Linked DNA regions of Homo sapiens: regions 2 and 3 are each linked to region 1. Evidence: promoter capture Hi-C in 16 types of primary human blood cells and fetal thymus (Javierre and others, 2016). All regions are on one chromosome and are shown on one strand. The core of a region is centred on a gene start or on the middle of the fragment in contact, and the rest is flanking DNA. Distances in the headings are between cores, read along the strand shown. Region 1 holds the start of KLF4 (KLF transcription factor 4). Region 2 has its middle 320 kb from the start of ACTL7B. Region 3 has its middle 41 kb from the start of ACTL7B.

Region 1 (2,997 bases), core at 437-2,936:
TCCAGGAGATCGTTGAACTCCTCGGTCTCTCTCCGAGGTAGGGGCGCCAGGTTGCTACCGCCGCAAGCCGCACCGGCTCCGCCGCTCTCCAGGTCTGTGGCCACGGTCGCCGCCGCCAGGTCATAGGGGCGGCCGGGAAGCACTGGGGGAAGTCGCTTCATGTGGGAGAGCTCCTCCCGCCAGCGCTGCGGGGACAGGGCGGGAGAGACCTGTCAGTGGTGGTCCCCTGTTGCCACCCGACATACTGACGTGCTGGCGGGCCACGCGCGACTGCACCGCCCAGACATGGGGACTGGTCAGGCAGGAAGCACCCGGGAACCCAGGGCGCCAGCGCTGCAATCTCGGCCCACTCCCGGGTCGAAGAAGAGGTGATGCGTCTGTATTGCGGGTGTTATGTCCTGTCTGCCCAATTGCGTGTGAGCGAGCGCCGCGGCTGGTCCCTCCCCCTCCAGGTCCCGTGGACGTCCCCGGAATTGGCACACCGAGGCTCTCTCGGTGCGCTCTCGCCACGGGGCCGCCTACGCGCTAAACTCACTCTGGCCCAGCCAGTGTCTGGGGACGCGGCCACCTCCCGCCCGGTGGCCCGAGAGCGCCCGCCCTACCGACAGCGCGCCCGGGGACTGGTGAAGACCCGGCTTGCGCCCCAGGCGGCTCCGCAGTGCTCGCACCACGGGCATACACAGCTGAGCCAAGGACACGGAAGCTATCCCGGGAAGGTTGCGGAGTCCGCGCGGTGGCCGCTCCTTACCCTCGTTCAGTGGCTCTTGGTGACCCCAAGGCTCCGCCCGCCCCCACCACACCCACGAAAACCCACCGGGCGTTCCCGGCGGCCCGGAGCGATACTCACGTTATTCGGGGCACCTGCTTGACGCAGTGTCTTCTCCCTTCCCGCCGGGCCAGACGCGAACGTGGAGAAAGATGGGAGCAGCGCGTCGCTGACAGCCATGTCAGACTCGCCAGGTGGCTGCCTGCGAGCAAGGCAGGGAGCGGAGACAGGAGAGTCAGGGGCGGCTTTCGGCCGTCGTTCCGGCGCGTCCCACCGGTCCTCACCCCTCCCTGCTCCCAGCGCCGCGCGCCTCACCTACCTCATTAATGTGGGGGCCCAGAAGGTCCTCGGCAGCCCGAAGCAGCTGGGGCACCTGAACCCCAAAGTCAACGAAGAGAAGAAACGAAGCCAAAACCCAAAACCCCAAATTGGCCGAGATCCTTCTTCTTTGGATTAAATATAACTTGGAAGCGTCTTTTTTAAAAAGTTCCTTTGTATACAAAAGTTCTTAGAAAAGTTGTAAACGCAAAAATAGACAATCAGCAAGGCGAGTAAGTAGGTCCGGTGGCCGGGCTGCGCTCTCTTCCACTCAGCAGCGTCCCCCACCACTGTCGCGGTCGCCTCGAGTGCTGCCGTGGGCGCAGGGGCTGTGGCCGGGGCGGTGGGCGGGCGGTGCCGCCAGGTGAGACTGGCTGCCGTGGCGCGGAGCTGCGAACTGGTCGGCGGCGCAAGGCGCGGACTCCGGTGAGTTGTGTGGAGCGCGCGCGGCCATGGGCGCGGGCCACGGGCGGGTGGGAGGGTGGGGGGCCAGAGGGGCGGGGGAGGGTCACTCGGCGGCTCCCGGTGCCGCCGCCGCCCGCCACCGCCTCTGCTCCCCGCGCGCCCGCAGACACGTTCGTTCTCTCTGGTCGGGAAACTGCCGGCCGCCGGCGCGCGTTCCTTACTTATAACTTCCTTCGCTACAGCCTTTTCCTCCGCCTTCTCCCATGCCCCGCCCCTCCCTTTCTTCTCTCCGCCCCCCCCGAGGCTCCCTTCCATCGTTGCTATGGCAGCTAAATCAACAAACTCGGCGCACGTGGGGGCGGGGGAGGGGAAGGAGGGGCGCGGGCGGGGCTGGGCCGGGCCGTGACGCCAGCCAGGCAGCTGGCGGGCTGGAGCCGAGCTGACGCCGGCGGCAGTGGTGTCGGCGGCGGCGGCGGCGTCCGCCCCAGCGCGGGGCGCGAGGAACCGGGCGCAGGTTCGGTCGCTGCGCGACCAGGGCCGTACTCACCGCCATTGTCGGCTCCCTGGGTTCGAAGCCCGCGAAGACTGGTGGGGTCAGCGGGCGGCACGGTCACGCGTCCGCACCCCTGCTAGCATACGCGCTTGCCGCGCTGTCTGCGCGCTGGAGAAGAGCGCGATTATCCGCGTGACTCATCCAGCCCTCCATCTCCCCCTCCCTCTCTGCGCTCGCAGGAGTCCGCTCTCGTCGCTCAGCGCCAGTGCCGGTGGCGGTGCCGGCGCTCGGCCTGACCTCGCACGGTTCCTCGCGGGCCCTTCTGCTGAGGGGTGGGGGGCGCTAGGGGTGTGGAGAGGAGGCAGTGCCCAGCACTGTGCAGCGTGAACTGGGAGCCTCAAGAGAAGGCCAGAGGAGTGTTCCGCCGGGAACAGGCGGAAAGAGGCACGAATGGGGAGTTATGGTTTTGATACTTTAAATAGCGAGAAAGGGAGTGAAAGGGCTCAAGATTTACTCAGAGGCATAAGGGAGAGAAGAGGGACTGTGAGGCGCGGAGACAGTTTTCAACCAGCCATCTCGAAGCCCTTTCCTTTTTTTTTCTTTCTTTTTTTTTTTTTTGTGAGACAGAGTCTCGCTGTGTCGCCCAAGCTGGAATGCAGTGGCACGATCTCAGCTCAGTGCAACCTCCGCCTCCTGCGTCCAAGCGATTCTCCTGCGTCAGCCTCCCGAGTAGCGGGGATTACAGGCGTGCGCCACGACGCCGGCTAATTTTTGTATTTTTCGTGGAGACGGGGTTTCACCATGTTGGCCAGGCAGGTCTCGAACACCTGACCTCAAGTGATCAGCCTGCCTCGGCCTCCCGAAGTGCTGGGATTACAGGCGTGAGCCACTGCCTGTAATATTTGATGACTAAATTGCACTGTAGAATAATAATAATAATAGAAGACACCCATTAAAGAAGAATTAAACACTCACTGATGACTTTTCAAGCCACGCACTCTCCTTTCCACTTTAT
Region 2 (3,248 bases), core at 296-2,795, 1.0 Mb after region 1:
AAGAGCTGCCCCATCTTGGATGTGATGCTAATGGGATGTAATGAGAAAAAAATCACAAAACAATCACTGATCCCCATGAACTGAAAGCTCATATTTTAAATATTCATAATTAAGCATCCCACAGGTACATTACCAATGAGACCTTCCAAATCATAAACAATGACCTGTCAAAATCAAAAGCTACGACAGAAAAGAAAAACCACAATTTATACAGCTATCCAAAAGCAACAAAAAAGATACAACTAATTCTTGGAAAAACTGACAGGCTAGATTTTACTCAAATTTATTTAGACCAAATGGTCTTGAGATGTGGTTAGCTGTGTTGAACTGCTGTTGCCAGGAGCATGAAACTTTGTATGAATTCGTCTGAAAAAAAAAAAAAAAAGCTGCTGTATTTAGTAGGTTTTCATCAGAATCTTAAACACCTTGATCAATAGCTTAATATGGCTCAACTATCTGGAATACAATTTGCAGGTAAATCAACATGACATGCCTCACAGGGTCCAATTTCTCCAATTAGACATGGCACAGTGCTATATTTGAGTAAGCGGAATGGAAAGATGGTCATTCTTTACTTCAGCTTTTTCCCAGGCTAACCTCTCAACCATGCTTTGATCACTCTCCATTCTTAGAACTTATTTGGCATCAGGCTCCATGAATGGCATAGAGAATGAGGTAATAACAAAGATACAGTTCCTCTAAGAAGCACAAAGCCTACTGGGGAATATAGGCAAGTAAACCATCAACTGCAAGATAATCTTATAGCCTAAGTCCAGAGAACCTTGAAACATCAATCTGAACCATCTTCAGCCAAACTCAGGGAAGATTTCCAAGAAAATGTGAAGCTTGATCTAAGTCTTGAAGAACAAGGGAAGCATACTGGGTAGAGAAGGAAGAAGAGGACCCCAGGTGAAACGAACAGCATGTGGGAAGGTATGCGAGTATGAAAGAGTCTTATATGTTTGAATGTCTGGTTCTTCTCTTCTAATGGGAGGCTGGATGGGTCCTGAGAGGTCCAAGTGGTGGAAGCATCACCTTAAATCATAGATCTAAAGTCTCAGAGCTGTGGGTTTACTAAAATCAATAAAGCATGCAAACTGAGGTTCCAGAAGGCAGACTGAGAGATCCAAACTATCCACCAAATTAAGTAGAATCTGAGAATGGTATCAGAAGGCAAAATGTGGGGCCAGGGGAATCTAAGAGCCAGGAGGTTATAAGTGGTAATATTATGTTGGAGAGGCAGGGGGTGGGGGAGTCACTGTTCAGGAGGGTCTTTTACATGCTTTTTGCAGCAATATATGAGTCCGTTCTAGTTAAAATACCAGAGCAAGAATGTTCAAACTAATGGTAGTTTAATCTGTGTCCTTGTAGATAAACCTACCAAATGTATAATAAAAACTGATTAGAGTCCAGGACTGTTTAATTAGAGTCAGAAAACAGAAACCACTCTAGGTATTCAAACAGAGGGAATTTAATACAGGAAATCATTTATACACATAGCTGAGAAACCACACAACGGTGGTGAGTTACTCATAGATTAGTAACAGCAGGAAACTTCTAACACACCCAATGCTGAAGGGAGCACAGGGGCCAGGATCAGAAGAAAGACACTGGAACCATGATAGCCCTGTCCAACAGGGGCTGGAGTCTTGGAGGGACAAAGCTAATGCTGGAGCTGCTACCCAAAGCAGAGATGAGGGAAGAAATACCCTGGACTATCACCTCGTCCTGCCCTCCAGTCTTCTGCCAGTTTCTTGTCCTCCTATCGACCAAACCAACTGAGAAGCCAGAGAGCAAAGAAGCCTGGAAAATGTAGTTCCTTATAATAGAGAGCAGGGCAAAAAAGGGCAAAGAGAGCATCTGACAGTAAACAAGCGAATAACCAGCAAAGTCAAAGTTAAGACAGAAGACAGAAGACACAGGGAGAACAAGATCATGAAGCATCCTTTTTGTATTTTATTCTTCGGAAAACAGAAAATGGTTAAACAGTTTTAACTATAGCCATCTTGGTGTTTTATAAAGATCACTCTGGCTACATATGGAGGCTGAGTTTTAGGAGGGTGACTGTAAGAAGCCAGAATACTGTTGTGATTGATTTAGCTAAAAGGCAGAACAGCAATGTTCATGGTCCTAGGCATAGGGATGCCAAGAGTCAATGTAGGGCTTGGGGTCTCCATCAAACATCACCATGAGAACAACCAAAAGCCCTCCTTGAAGATAAACATCCTGATTTTGAGTGAACACTGAAGCTTTTATCTAGCTGGACAAAATTACACATTGGATTTTATACTTAAATTCACTTGGTAGCATTTCATTTCCTGGCCCCCTTGTGGCTGGGTAGGGTCATGGGACTAGTTCTGACCAAAGAGGTACAAGCAGGCGTGGTCTGTATCACTTCCAGGCAAGGGCATTAAATTGCCAGTGTGAGACCCTCCAGAGTTCACACTCTCACTCAGCTGCGATGACCAGCAACATTTGATATGGTAGCTTCTTCGTCAACCTGGGTCCCCAAGTAAGCAGGCATGGTGCAGAGTCCCCTAGCAAACTGACAGTGGACAAATCCCATGGGCAAGAAGGAATCCATCTTTGTTGTACACAGAGATTTTGGAGTTCTTGTTAATACAGCATAACCTAGCCAATCCTGGCTAATACCATAGCCATAATATCCTTCAGAGTACCAGTCTCAATTTCCTCTTCTGTATAAAAAGGGAATAATACCATTCTCGTATGTAATTTTAACAATAAAATAACCTGCTATATGTGGATGTGCTTTGTAAATGACAGCTGTTTTTCTTTATTCAGTAAACTGGAGGTATGACCAATATCTTTTTAAAGAGGACAAATATGACGAGAGGAAATAATTACTCTTCAGTTATTTTTTTCTACCTCTTAAAAGAAAACTTTATGTTCCATTTCAATAGGCTTCCACACTGATGGCAACGTCTTTAGATAAAATTTTGTAGCTTTGAGTGACAGGTTTGGGAAGATCTTTCTTACTGCTTGCTGATATAGTATATACAGACCTCTAGCAGGTCTCGGCCACCTTTGACTAGCCCTTTTGAAATGTGTACTCCTGTACCTCAGCCCTTTTGAAATGTGTACACCTGTACCTGAGGAGACACCACTGTCAGCTTTGGCTGGAAAAAAAAATTCCTCTAATGTGTGTTACTCAACCCAGCATCACCCTTCTACCAAGCTTTGGATTCATTTATTTAATTAGCAGTCACAGAAATATATTAAGCATCTTT
Region 3 (3,412 bases), core at 561-3,060, 1.3 Mb after region 1:
GAGGAGTGGAGGCAGGGGACTGTGAGGAAAGGAAGAGGGTGTAAAAGTGAAGAAAGTGAAGTTTGACCTGTTAGGTTGAGGTCAGATATTCTGGAAAAACAAAGTCACTTGGTTAAATGGGAATGACAGAAATAATAGCTAACAATTATTAAGCTCTTATTGCTACTATTTTAGTACTTTCCACTTAAATCTATGATGTTCAGTGATGGCAAATTATAATACTTGCCCAAGATGATTCAGTTGGGAAGAGGTGAAGATGGGAATTTGAAGGCAATCTGCAGACCTCAGAGCCCAGCCCTTAGCCATCACACAGTCTTGCCAGGGCTTCGCAAAATATTCAGTGAACTGATGAATCCAAAAGTACTTTGCCAACTGTGAAGTGCTGCCCAAAAGTAGCCACTGCTGTTTACTAGTTTTGTTACGAAGATCTCCAAAATAAGAGATCTTTCTTCTTCCTTGATATTTGACAGTGCAAACCCTGAGCATTTTTTCCCAGGTTCAGAATAGCAAGCAAGAAAGGCTATGAGATTGTTATGTGGACATATTATGTAAACAAACAAACAAAAGGCTATGAGACAGAAATCACTCTGGATGAAAGGAAAGGAAGTCTGGGCTTTCATGAGTCACACTGAGAGACAGAAAAAATGATAAAGTCAGGCCAGGCAACCCTTCTGAAAGCTTAGCCTGTACTGGCACCTGCTGGTGCCCACAGTAGCTGTGCCAGCTTTACTTTCAACCAGGAATTATCCCTTGGAGGGTAAATGCCCCAGGGCAGTTTTATGTGTGAAGGGATTAGGGGCAGAGGGAAGGGTTGCAGCTTTTCTTCTTTTCTTACTCAAGAGGCTGCTGTGCATCTTTGGAAAAACCTCCAGGCTAAAATTCACTAGTAATAAACTACTGAGCACCTTTTATGGACATGCGTGGCACTGAGGGTCTCACTCAGCTCCCCCAAGAACAGTACCCCCAGCCCACCTCTGCAAGACACAGAACTGGAGGAGGTTGCTGCATTTGACCAAGATCATGCAACTAACTACTAAGTGGCAGCTCTAATTTAGGCCAAAATTCGATTTCATTTATACTCTTTTTTACAGCACCAGGTTATTTCCAAAGACTTAAGTTCACAGTCTAATTTTCCCATTTGCTATGTATGGGATCCTGGCCCTACCAATTCACCACTGAGAGTTTTGTCTTGGTTGACTGATCCCCTTACCTTATTCCAGAAGAGGTCAAACATGCCTACCTTACTCAAATCCTTTTCTGCAATGTGGGGAGAAACCCCTCTCACGGTGTTTGTAATGATCCTAAAAAGAGGTTGGATCTAAAAACATAAATAACAATACAATTACCTTTAAAACCTGAAGACCTGCTACGCCATAAATGTTTCTTTGAACTTCCTGGCTCCAAATGGAAAGAAGAATTCAAAGGTATTCCCTGAAATAGCTCCTAAACTTGTCAGTTGATGTTCGCACCTGGAAAAATCTCTTAACCCCAAATGTGTCCAATCAAAGATCTAGAAAACTTATTTTCCAGAGCTCAGTTGAAATTTAAAGAAAAACAAATAAAAGATACACAGTTGAACCATATGAAATTGCCAATATTTGACCATTCTGACTTACCAAAAATAAGTAAAAGCAGCACATTGAAGGGATTCAATGTAATTTACGCAGGCCCTCAAAAAGACAGGGTCTTTATCACTGTAGTCATTGGACAAGCCCCCTCCAGGCCAAGTATCAGCAGACAGGCACAAGAGTCACCTGGGTGATTGTTTAATATGCAGGTTCCCAGGCCCACTCCAGAAATGCCGATTCAGGACTGGAGTGGGGTGAGTCACTCAGGAATGTGCCTGTGTAAAAGACATCCCAGGTATCCCAACACAGGGAGGAGGTGCACCTTGCTCTGGAGTACTACTGGGCTTCTAAGGCAATCACCCAGGTGACTCTTGTGCCTGTCTGCTGATATTTGGCCTGGAGGGGGCTTGTCCAATGACTTTACAGTGATAAAGACACTGTCTTTTTGAGGGCCTGCGTAAATTACATTGAATCCCTTCAACGTGCTGCTTTTACTTATTTATTTTTGGTAAGTCAGAATAGTCAAATATTGGCACTTTCATATGGTTCAACTGTGTATCTTTTATTTGTTTTTCAGAAGACAGCATTCCAGGATGCTGCACTCTCAAAGGGCATCCAGTCTACGGTGGGCAGGCTGATTTAAGGATTTATGCTGTACAAGTGGACAAGATCCTGGAGGGGCACAGTTTCAAATCTCATTTCCATAACTTGGCCGCTGTGAGAAGTCTTTGGAGTACCCAGCTTTTTTGTTTTAATGATCCAACCCTGCTTTTTGTTGTTTCCTTTTGTTTGTTTTGTTGCCTGAAATTTATTATTATTATTAATTACTGCGAGGGGACCTGAAACACTTTTTGAATAGCTGCTTTAGGGTGATGTGTTCAGTCCCCATCCCTCTACCCTCCAAGACAGAATTACTGCGGCTCTACTTGTTGGTTTAAAGACTATTTATAAGCAAGGTCCATCTTCCACATTGCAGATCCAAACCAAAGCCTCATTATTTCCACTGTTTGTTTTGCTGCAGAATGGTTAACATTTACATGGAAATGGGTCTTTTTCTCTATCCTGTAATTTGGATTGTTTAGTTTTCCTTTTTGGACTTCTTTGATGCTGCTGAAGAAAGAAGTCCGCAGGAATCTGGAGAAAGGAAGAGTGAGCTGCCGGGGGCCGAGTGGGCGGCAATGCTGTTTGCTTCCGTGCCTGTGTGGCGCCCCCCCGCCACGCCGCCCCCACCACTTCCCCTAGTTGGACTAAGCTATCTCCTTCCTGTTTCTGCTTTTCTCCCTCCTACAGCTGGGCTAAGATATGTCAGCACTTAGGGCTGGAGGTCCAGCTTTACCACTAACTCAATATGGAACCTGGATCAAGTCTCCCTCGGAAGCTTTGCTTCCCATGTGAACAGTGAAGGTGCTTAACCAGATGATCTCTAAATTCCATTACATTCCTAAGCCCACTGAGCTTCCCTTTTCTACACCCTTTTCCTTTCTATCTCGGATGAAGTAAAAAAGTTGCTTTTTTTATACCCAAAGCATGAAAATAATAACCAATGAATGTCCCCCAGATGTCCCTGAGTTTCAAAGATGACATCATTGCTATATAAGATTTTCCAAAGACTTTCCAAGGCTTTAAATCCTCTAGCATTTCTACCTCACCTACTACCCCCACAACCATTCCCCATTAGCCCCAACTTAACTGCAACCCTAGAACTTTCTAGGTTTAATTTCTGTCTCTCCTCTTCCTTTTATTTCTTGCTAGAGGATTCTACAAGAAATATAACTCCACTTCCAAGTATCTACTCTAGAGAAGCATTTTGCCAATGTCTACGATAAGGCATAAGGAAGTGTGTT

What was found. The method cuts DNA at HindIII sites, captures the fragments that hold promoters and counts their contacts. A CHiCAGO score of 5 or more calls a contact.
Region 2: a fragment that was not itself captured here is called in contact with the fragment with the promoter of KLF4 in region 1 in 2 of 17 cell types (naive B cells and M1 macrophages); the score reaches 6.1 in naive B cells.
Region 3: a contact is called between a fragment that was not itself captured here and the fragment with the promoter of KLF4 in region 1, in 1 of 17 cell types (M0 macrophages). The highest score is 6.2, in M0 macrophages.

Annotation. Positions count from the first base shown.
Region 1 is chr9:107,488,083-107,491,079 of GRCh38, forward strand. KLF4 (KLF transcription factor 4) reads right to left here and starts at 1,687. Exons shown (of 5, transcript NM_004235.6): 1 at 1,086-1,687; 2 at 848-968; 3 at 1-185. The coding sequence starts at 1,090. RefSeq lists silencers at 499-548, 1,200-1,399, 1,759-1,968. The HindIII fragment of the contact is 11,219 bases long and covers 1-2,997 here.
Region 2 is chr9:108,533,403-108,536,650 of GRCh38, forward strand. No RefSeq gene overlaps it. Among named protein-coding and RNA genes, the nearest start is that of ACTL7B, 320 kb to the right of the region's middle. The HindIII fragment of the contact is 1,404 bases long and covers 844-2,247 here.
Region 3 is chr9:108,813,490-108,816,901 of GRCh38, forward strand. No RefSeq gene overlaps it. Among named protein-coding and RNA genes, the nearest start is that of ACTL7B, 41 kb to the right of the region's middle. The HindIII fragment of the contact is 2,268 bases long and covers 677-2,944 here.